2 separate regions of the Homo sapiens genome follow, and region 2 is linked to region 1. Evidence: promoter capture Hi-C in human tissues and cell types (Jung and others, 2019). All regions are on one chromosome and are shown on one strand. The core of a region is centred on a gene start or on the middle of the fragment in contact, and the rest is flanking DNA. Distances in the headings are between cores, read along the strand shown.

Region 1 (4,638 bases), core at 1,813-4,312:
GCAGGCGTATCACTTGAGGCAAGGAGTCTGAGACCAGCCTGGCCAAACATGGCGAAACCCCGTCTCTACTAAAAATACAAAAATTTGCCGGGCCTGCTGGTGCACGCTTGTAATCCCAGCTACTTGGGAGGCTGAGGCATGAGAATCACTTGAAACCAGGAGGCAGAAGTTGCAGTGAGCTATGATTGCCCCCCTGCACTCCAGCCTGGGTGACACAGCGAGACTCTGTCTAAAAAAAAAAAAAAGAGCAGCCTGGGCAACACAGTAAGACCTCCATCTCTACAAAATAAAAAATAAAAATTAGTCAGGAGTGGTGGCACTTATCACAGCTACTTGGGAGGCTGAAGTGGGAGGATCACCTGAGCCCAGGAGGTTGAGGCTGCTGTGAGCTGATGGTGCCATCGCACTCCAGCCTGGACAACAGAGTGAGACCCTGTCTCTAAACAAAAATAAATTGTTTTTTTTTCTACTGGACTTAAACAATCTGCCCTCCTTGGCCTCCCAAAGCACCAAGCCTGTGTCTTCTTTTTCATCACAGCCGTGGCAGAAGGAAGGAGGTGACTGGAAGCCCCACTCTCTCTGAGTAGCTGAGGGAATACACCCTGACTATAGGCCGAGACAGTCCACATCAGCTCTTCAATAGGATTTAGTGGCTTTGCATAAAATGGAAAAGCAGCTGTGATTGCAAGAGAAATTAAAAATAACCACCATCTGAAATGCAAATTGAAAACAGTGAGACAACACATGTCACTCTGGCAGGTGACCCACTGTGCTGGTGAAGGCATGCAGGCACTCTCAGACTTCCGCAGAGAGACCTGAGTAATCAATTGACTTCCACAAAGGGCGACTTGCCAACAGCTATCAAAAGTACTCAGGCACATCCCACTTGGCCCAGCAATTCCACTTCCAGGAATTTCTCCTGCAGAAATACATGTGCACAAACAACGTAGGAAAGCACTGTTTATAGTAACAACCCAACTAGGACAGACCAGGTATATTTAGACAACAAACAAGGAAGCTTTTTACTAAATTGGGATGATCTCTAAGAAGAAGGTACGTAGAAAAAGCAAGGTGGGAGAACACGCTATGTGCTTGTACTATGCACGTCAATGAAAAAATACACAAAGAATTGACAGGCCAGGTGGAGTGGCTCACACCTAATCCCAGTACTTTGGAAGACTGAGATGGGAGGGTTCCCTGAGGCCAGGACTTCAAATCAGCCTGGGCAACATAGCAAGACCCCCCCACATCTCTACAAAAAAATTAAGAAAAAAATTAGCCGGGCATGGTGGTGTGTACCTGTAGTCCCAACTACTGAGGAAACTGAGGTGGGAAGATCCCTTGAGCCAGGAGGTCGAGGCTGCATGGAGCTTTGATCGTACCACTGCCCTCCAGCCTGAGCAACAGAGTGAGAAAAAAAACAGACTTTTTTTCTATTTCTGGAAAAAAATAAAGAATTTATAAGTATGATGGTTCTGGTAATAGAAGTAGGTGGCTAGGCAGAGTGGACACTTCACACTGCATACTCCCCTATTTTCCGAAATCTGAGTTTTTTTTTTTTTTTTTTTTTTTTTTGAGATGGAGTCTTGCTCTGTCACCCTGGCTGGAGTACAGCAGCACCATCTCGGCTCACTGCAACTTCCGCCTCCTGAGTTCAAGCAATTGTCCTGCCTCAGCCTCCCCAGTAGCTGGGATTACAGGCGTGCACCACACGCCCACCTAATTATTGTATTTTTAGTAGAGACAGGGTTTCACCATGTTGGCCAGGCTGGTCTCAAACTCCTGACCTCGTGATCCGCCCACCTCGGCCTCCCAAAGTGCTGGGATTACAGGTGTGAGCCACCATGCCCAGCCAATCTGAGCTATTTAAAAACTAAAGGTAAAATTTTAAAAGGGGAAGGGGAAAATGGGAAGTCATTGTTTTAAGGGGACAGAGTTTCTGTTTGGGGTGAGAAAACTCTAGAAATAGTGGGGGCGTGGCACATGATTGGAATGAATGGCAGGGAACGGCACGCTTAAATGTTCCTGTACGTTTCACAGGAGAAGTCAATGCACACACAAGCGCCGCAACCCAGTCCAAGGCTTTGCTCCTACAGGGCCTTACAGGGGGTATTTGAGACGCCCACCTTAATGCAGGTTGGACCCAGCTCCGGGCTGCGGGGCTTCCCCGCCCCGGGGTCTTTCGTGTGAGCCCCGTGGCGGGGGATCCTGGCCCAGGACATGGCGCGGAGAAGGCTGTGGGCGGCGGGACAGGGTGCCTTCGGCTGCCGGGTTAAGAGTGGATCCCGGGATACATCCTCCAGCGCCTGCCCTCGGGCCTGTGTGCACCCCCATACCCAGCGGGGCCGTCCAAGAGCTTCAAGGAGGGCACAGCGCGACCCGCCCTCCCCTCAGCCCCGCACACCGTCCCACGGCCCCGCACAGCCTCCCTCCCACACAGCGCCCCACGGCACCCGCACAGCGCCCCACGGCCCCTTCATGGTCCCCGCACAGCGCCTCACAACCCGCACACAGCGCCTCACGGACCCTTTACGGCCCCCGCAGAGTCTCCCACACGGCGCCCCACACAGAGCCTCACGGACCCCGCACAGCGCCTCAAGGTCTCCGCACAGCCCCCAGCACAGCGCCTCACACAGCCCTTCGCACAGCCCCCCGCACAGCTCCTCACGGGCCCCACACAGCTGCCGCACAGCCCCGCACAAGCCCGCACAGCACCAGCAGACAGGTAGCCCCCACAGGCAACAGCGCCCACCTCGCCGCGCCCAGACCCCGGATCGCCGACGCGGACGCCAGGCGCCTGGGCACACGGCGCCTGCGCAGACAACACCACGCCCCAGGCCTGGCGAGCGCACCCTGCGGGTGGGGCGGACCTACGTCAGCAACCCATCGTCCGATCCCGTCCATTGGCTGAGAGGTAATGCGTGCGCCCGACTCGCCGCTGATTGGTCGGCGCGCGAGCAGCCGGGCTCGCACGGGCCAATCCTGTGGTAGCGCGTGAGGAGGCAGAGGCCTCTGGGGTGGGATCGCGGGCCGTAAGTGGCTGTGGAGCTGGGGTCACTGCGCGGTGGGACCATGGCCTCGGAGAAGCCGCTGGCGGCAGTCACTTGTACAGCGCCGGTCAACATCGCGGTCATCAAGTACTGTGAGTGCCGCGGGCCGGCCTGGGACGGGGATGGCCGGGAGCGAGGCCGGGTACGCGGGGGTCGCGCGCTGATTCGGCGGCGCGCTCCGTCCTGCCCTCCCAGGGCCTCGACAGACGGGGAAACTGAGGCTCAGGGAGGGGCGCGGCGGTGGTCGGGCGGGGCCGCGCGCTCCTTCGCGTGACAAGCTCGGCGCCACCCGTTCCCCCGCGACGGCTGCCGCCCCTGCAGGGTCGCCCGGCGCCTGCCCATTAGCGATTACCGAACTATCGAAATCATCAATCATCGATTCCCATGAATCGTAAGAATCCGCCGTGGTGGTGCGCGTTTGTGGCTCCAGCTACTCGGGAGGCTGAGGCGGGAGGATGGCCAGAGCCCGGGAGGTCGAGGCTGCAGTGAGCGGAAATCGCGCCACTGCTCCCCCAGCCCGAGACCCTGTGTCCCTCCCTCGCCCCGTTTCTCCCAGCGGTAACCTCCAAGGAGCGGTAATGGGGGGCCCGCAGGCCCACATCCGTGCCGGGGAGGCCGGTCCGCACCTGTGCGTTCACAGCCCCGCCCCTCCCCTCGCGCCGGGGTTACCTGGCCGCCACTGACCACTCATTTCTGTAACGTCATTTCAAAATGTTCTGAAACTGGAATCGCAGTTATGTGGCCCACCCAGTATCTTTTGAGTTTGGCTTATTTCATTCAGCATAGAATGTGGACGTGCCCCGGGATTGTATCAGTGCTTTGCCCCTCTGTTGCTGAGCCAGTCCGTGGAATCCATGGACCACCCTCTCTCTAGCCAAGGCCTCACCCCGCAAAGAGCATCTAACGTTTTCTTTCTTTCTTTCTTTTCTTTCCAGAAGCCGCCACCACGACTGGCTAATTTTTTTGTGTTTCCCTTACCAATAAAGCTGCCATAAAATGTTGTATACAGGTTTTTGTGTGAACATACATTTCCATTCTTCTGGGATAAATGCCCAGGAGTGCGGTTGCTGGGTCAGATGGTAGATATATATATATGCCTCTCTGTCTCTCTCTCTCTTTCTATGTATATATGTATGTTTGTGTGTGTGTATATATATATACACCTGTATAGATATATGTGTGTGTATATGTATACACCTATATAGATGTATGTGTGTGTATATATACATATATATATTATATATATACTTTTTTTTTTTAAAGAAACTGTCTAATTGTTTTTCAGAGTGGCTGGGCCATTTTGCATCCCTACGGTGATGCAGATTTTCCGCATCCTCACCAGCATTTGGTGGAGTTGCTGTTTTTCATTTTAGCCGCGTCCTGGTAGGGATGTGCTGGCAGGGTGCTGTGGTCCTCATTCGCGTTTCCCTGTTGGCCAGTGACGTGGAGCATCTTTCTTTGTGCTTATTTGCCATCTGTGGGTTTTCTTGGTGAAATCTCTCTTCATATTCTGTGTCCACGCTCGAACTGGATGGTTTGCTTTTTTACTATAAGTTTGGAGAGTTCATTACACATTCTAGGCTGGGCA
Region 2 (4,980 bases), core at 1,433-3,932, 580 kb before region 1:
CATATATAAATATATAGTAAATATATATGTATATATACACACACACACATACGTGTGTGTGTGTGTATATATATATATATATATTTTTTTTTTTTTTTTTTTTGAGACAGAGTCTAGCTCTGTCACCCAGGCTGGAGTGCAGTGGGGCGATCTCAGCTCACTGCAAGCTCCGCCTCCCGGGTTCACGCCATTCTCCTGCCTCAGCCTCCAGAATACCTGGAAGCACAGGCGTGAGCCACCACATCCGGCTAATTTTTTAAACTTTTTTTCGTAGAGACACGGTCTCCCTGTTTCCCAGGCTGGTCTCAAACTCCTGGACTCTAGCGATCCCCCCAGCTTGAGCTCCCAAATTGCTGGGATTCCCGTCGTGAGCCACCATGTCCAGTCTAACTGTCTTTTAAAGAAGTTTAAAAATTACTCTCTAGCTGCGCAAGGTGGTTGGTGCCTGTAATCCCAGCAGTGTGGGAGGCTCTGGTGGGAGGACCACTCGAGCCCAGGAGGCTGAGGCTGCAGTGAGCCACGATAGCGGCACTGCACTGCAGCCTGGGCGACAGAGCGAGATCCTGACTCAAAAAAAAAAAAAAAAAGAAAAGAAAAGAAAAAGAAAAGAAAAAAGAAGAAAACACTTAAAGGATGACATCATTTTCGGGCGTTTCGTCCTTTGGGATTTGCCGTTTTCAGGATTTCACACCGTAGGGATGTTGATCTCTTGTGACTTCAACACTCCGGGTTCTGCTCTTCAAGACTCTGGCTGAGGTCTGTTTCAAACAGAGCCCAAACACGCAGATCTGTCGTCATCTAGGTCCCGTCTGCCCTGTGTGCCCTGTGAAATGGTGCCAAACATCCGCTAGCCACAGAAAAACCGACACCTGAGAGCTGTCGGTCCCCCAGCCCCGGCTGCCCTTCAGACGGTACCGACCGCGGCTCCCGCCGGGCTGCTGAGTGTGTCACTGTCGCCCAGCACACGAGCCCCTCTCCGATCCCCCGAGTTCCTCACCGAGTCCCTTACCCCCGGAAGTCCCTCGCTCTCCTCCCTTCCCCCCGGAAGTCCCTCGCTCTCCTCCCTTCCCCCCGGAAGTCCCTCGCTCTCCTCCCTTCCCCCCGGAAGTCCCTCGCTCTCCTCCCTTCCCCCCGGAAGTCCCTCGCTCTCCTCCCTTCCCCCCGGAAGTCCCTCGCTCTCCTCCCTTCCCCCCGGAAGTCCCTCGCTCTCCTCCCTTCCCCCCGGAAGTCCCTCGCTCTCCTCCCCTTCTGAGCGGTGACCCCCACCCCGAAGCCGGCGAGGCACCGCGGAACCCGGTCTGCCTGCGCTACCGCCCCCTGCTGGCCAGGCCCTCTTCCCAATCGCCCCGAAACCATTCACATCACCCACGTGTGCACGTTTTGTCCACATTTAGATCCCTGATCCATTTGCAGCTTATTCCTGTGAACGGTGTAATTTTTTGGGGGGCGGGGGGAAGGCGGGGTCTCGCTCTGTCACCCAGGCTGGAGTGCAGTGGCGCCATCTCGGCTCACTGCAAGCTCCACCTCCCGGGCTCAACCAATTCTCCTGCCTCAGCCCCCTGAGTAGCTGGGATTACAGGCCCGCACCACCATGCCTGGCTAACTTTCGTATTTTTAGTACAGATGGGGTTTTTCTTTTCTTTTCTTTTCTTTTGAGATGGAGTCTCACTGCTGCCCAGGCTGGAGTGCAGTGGCGCGATCTCGGCTCGCTGCAAGCTCCGCCTCCCGGGTTCACGCCATTCTCCTGGCTCAGCCTCCCGAGTAGCTGGGACTACAGGCGCCCGCCACCACGCCCGGCTAATTTTTTTGTATTTTTAGTAGAGACGGGGTTTCACTGTGTTAACAAGGATGGTCTCGATCTCCTGACCTCGTGATCCGCCTGCCTCGGCCTCCCAAAGTGCTGGGATCACAGGCGCGAGCCACTGCGCCTGCCCGAGATGGGGTTTCACCATGTTGGCCAGGCTGGTCTCGAACTCCTGATCTCAACTGATCTGCCCCCCCTTGGCCTCCCAAAGTGCTAGGATTACAGGCGTGAGCCGCCACACTCGACCTGAACGGTGTAATTTATACATGTAAAACCATCTTGTTCAGACAGCTCACCAGTTGTCCTAGCACCTTTCATTACAAACTGCATTTTTGCCCCACTGATCTGAAATACCCACTTTATTAACTAAATTTCCATGTTGCTAGGTCTATTTCCAGATATTCCATTTTTGTCCATCTGTCTGCTTCCTGGTCATGTGTCACATACCTTAATTACAGCGGCTTTAGAGGATGCTGCAGTGTCCACAGGGAAGCATCAGTTTTGTCTCCTGGGTTTCTTGGGCACCATCAGACGTCTGTGCCCCCACATGAACTTCAGCGTCAATCTGCATTAACTCCACAAAAAGCTTTTGGTGCTGTTGTAACTGGGATTATGTTTCATTTCTGAATTAAGAATGGGATTTTTATGATGTTGTCATCCCATCAAAGAACAAGGAATTTGCCCGTTTGTTCAAGTCTATGTGGTTTTTTTTTTTTTTTTTTTTTTTTTTTTTTTTTTTTGAGACAGTCTTGCTCTGCCACCCAGGCTGGAGTGCAGTGGTGTGATCTTGGCTCACTGCAAGCTCCACCTCCTGAGTTCACACCATTCTCCTGTCTCAGCCTCCTAAGCAGCTGGGACTACAGGCGCCCGCCACCACACCTGGCTAACTTTTTGTATTTTTCATAGAGATGGGGTTTCACCATGTTAGCCAGGATGGTCTCGATCTCCTGACCTCGTGATCCACCCGCCTCAGCCTCCCAAAGTGCTGGGATTGCAGGCGTGAGCCATCGCGCCTGGCCTAGAAGTTTTTAATTAGCCTGGTGTGGTGGTGTGCACCTGTAGTCTCAGCTACTTGAGAGGATGAGGAGGAAGGATCGCTTGAGCCCTGGAGGTCGAGGCTGCAGTGAGCTGTGATCACACCACTGCACTGCAGCCTGTGGGACAGAGCAAATCCCCATCTAAAAAAAAAAAGTGTTTTAAAGTTTCCTCATGGCCGGGCACGGCCCGGTGGCTCACGCCTGTAACCCCAGCATTTTGGGAGGCCGAGACGGACAGATCATGAGGTCAGGAGTTTGAGACCAGCCAGGCCAACATGGTGAAATCCCGTCTCTACTAAAAATACAAAAATTAGCCGGGCGTGGTGGCAGGTACCTGTAATACCAGCTACTTGGGAGGCTGAGGCAGGAGAATCACTTGAACCCAGGAGGTGGAGGTTGCAGTGAGCCGAGATCATGCCACTGCACTCCAGCCTGGATGACAGAGCGAGACTCTGTCTCAAACAAACAAACAAACAAAAAGTTTCCTCATTTAGGTTTTATACATTTCTTGATAAATTTATTTCTAAGCATTGTTTTATTGCTATTATAAATAAGTTTTCTCTACTATCATATCACCTCACTGGTTATTGGTTGTGTAGATGAAGACCATCTATGTTTTGACGGCAACTTCACCTCCTCTAACTTACTAAATGTTTTTACTGATTCTACAGGGCTTTCCATGTATATCATATAATGCACACAAGAGATAGTTCACTTTTTTGCAAATCTGTTTTGCCCAATTGCATTAGGTAACACTTCCAGTACACACACACACACATATAGCTACAGACACAGGCGTCCTAAGAAAGTATTCACCAATTCCTATTTTGAGTGCGTCTATCAATAGTAGGTACCACATTTTCCCAAAGGCTTCATCAACACCTATGGATACAATCACATGCCTTATCTTCTTAGATGGATTCATATGGTGTAGTATTTAATAGGCTTTCTAATTGAACCAGTTGCAGTCTTAAATTCCACTTGGTCATGGTTTATTATTTTCTCAATGTGGTTTTGTATTATTTGCTAATATTTAACATAACTAATTTGAATCAATATAATTAACACTGTAATTTTTCATTTTTGTGGTCTTTTATCACATTTTGCTTTTAACTTTTATTTATGAGATGGAGTTTTGCTCTTGTTGCCCAGGCTGGAGTGCAATGGCGCTATCTCGGCTCATTGCAACCTCCACCTCCCGGGTTCAAGAGATTCTCCTGCCTCAGCCTCCCAAGTAGCTGGGATCACAGGTGCCTGCCACCATGCCCGGCTAATTTTGTATTTTTAGTACAGACAGGGTTTCGCCATGTTGCCCAGGCTGGTCTTGAACTGCTGGCCTTAAGTGAGCCAGCCACCTCAGCCTCCCAAAGTGTTGGGATTACAGGCATCAGCCACTGCACTCAACACCCTGTGGTAATTTTCTTTGTGCTGAAGTCATTTTTTCTGATGTTAAATACAGCCTCTCCACTTTATTATGTTTACATGGTACTATTAACCTATTTACGTCATTGTATTTGAAGTGTCTTGTAGATGACATACTGATGCGTCACACTTTTTATCTGTCCTATCTTTAAATAGCATGTGTAGATCATATTTTTTTTTTGAGATGAAGTCTTGCTCTGTTGCCCAGTCTGGAGTGCAGTGGCACGATCTTGGCTCATTGCAACCTCCACCTCCTGGGTTCAAATGATTCTCCTGCCTCAGGTTCCTGAGTAGCTGCGACCACAGGCATGAGCCACCAAACCTGGCTAATTTTTGTATTTTTAGTAGAGACAAGGTTTTACCGTGTTGGCCAGGCTGGTCTGGAACTCCTGACCTCAAGTGATCCACCCGCCTCGGCCTCCCAAAGTGCTGGGATTACAGGCGTGAGTGCCCAGCTGATCATGTGCACTAATGTGTTTGATTATCTAGGATTCAGCTCTACCAGTTATTTTTTATTTTTTATTTTAGACAGAGTCTTGCTGTCACCCAGGCTGGAGTACAGTGGCGCGATCTCAGCTCACTGCCACCTCCACCTCCCCGGTTCAAGTGATTCTCCTACCTCAGCCTCCCACGTAGCTCGAATTATAGGCTCCCACCATCACCCCTGGCTAACTTTGTATTTTTAGTAGAGACGGGATTTCACTATGTTGGCCAGAC

The links. Contacts are between HindIII fragments. The study calls those that stand out against the background at their distance.
Region 2: a fragment that was not itself captured here is called in contact with the fragment with the promoter of MVD in region 1 in 1 of the 25 tissues and cell types used here (dorsolateral prefrontal cortex).

The regions. Positions count from the first base shown.
Region 1 is chr16:88,661,515-88,666,152 of GRCh38, reverse strand. It overlaps MVD (mevalonate diphosphate decarboxylase), which reads left to right and starts at 3,062. Exons shown (of 10, transcript NM_002461.3): 1 at 3,062-3,142. The coding sequence starts at 3,073. SNAI3-AS1 (SNAI3 antisense RNA 1) reads right to left here and starts at 2,780. Exons shown (of 4, transcript NR_024399.1): 1 at 2,753-2,780. RefSeq lists silencers at 2,398-2,557, 2,898-3,317 and an enhancer at 2,768-2,817. The HindIII fragment of the contact is 7,255 bases long and covers 1-4,638 here.
Region 2 is chr16:89,237,309-89,242,288 of GRCh38, reverse strand. No RefSeq gene overlaps it. Among named protein-coding and RNA genes, the nearest start is that of ZNF778, 22 kb to the right of the region's middle. RefSeq lists an enhancer at 148-664 and a silencer at 1,172-1,261. The HindIII fragment of the contact is 4,092 bases long and covers 637-4,728 here.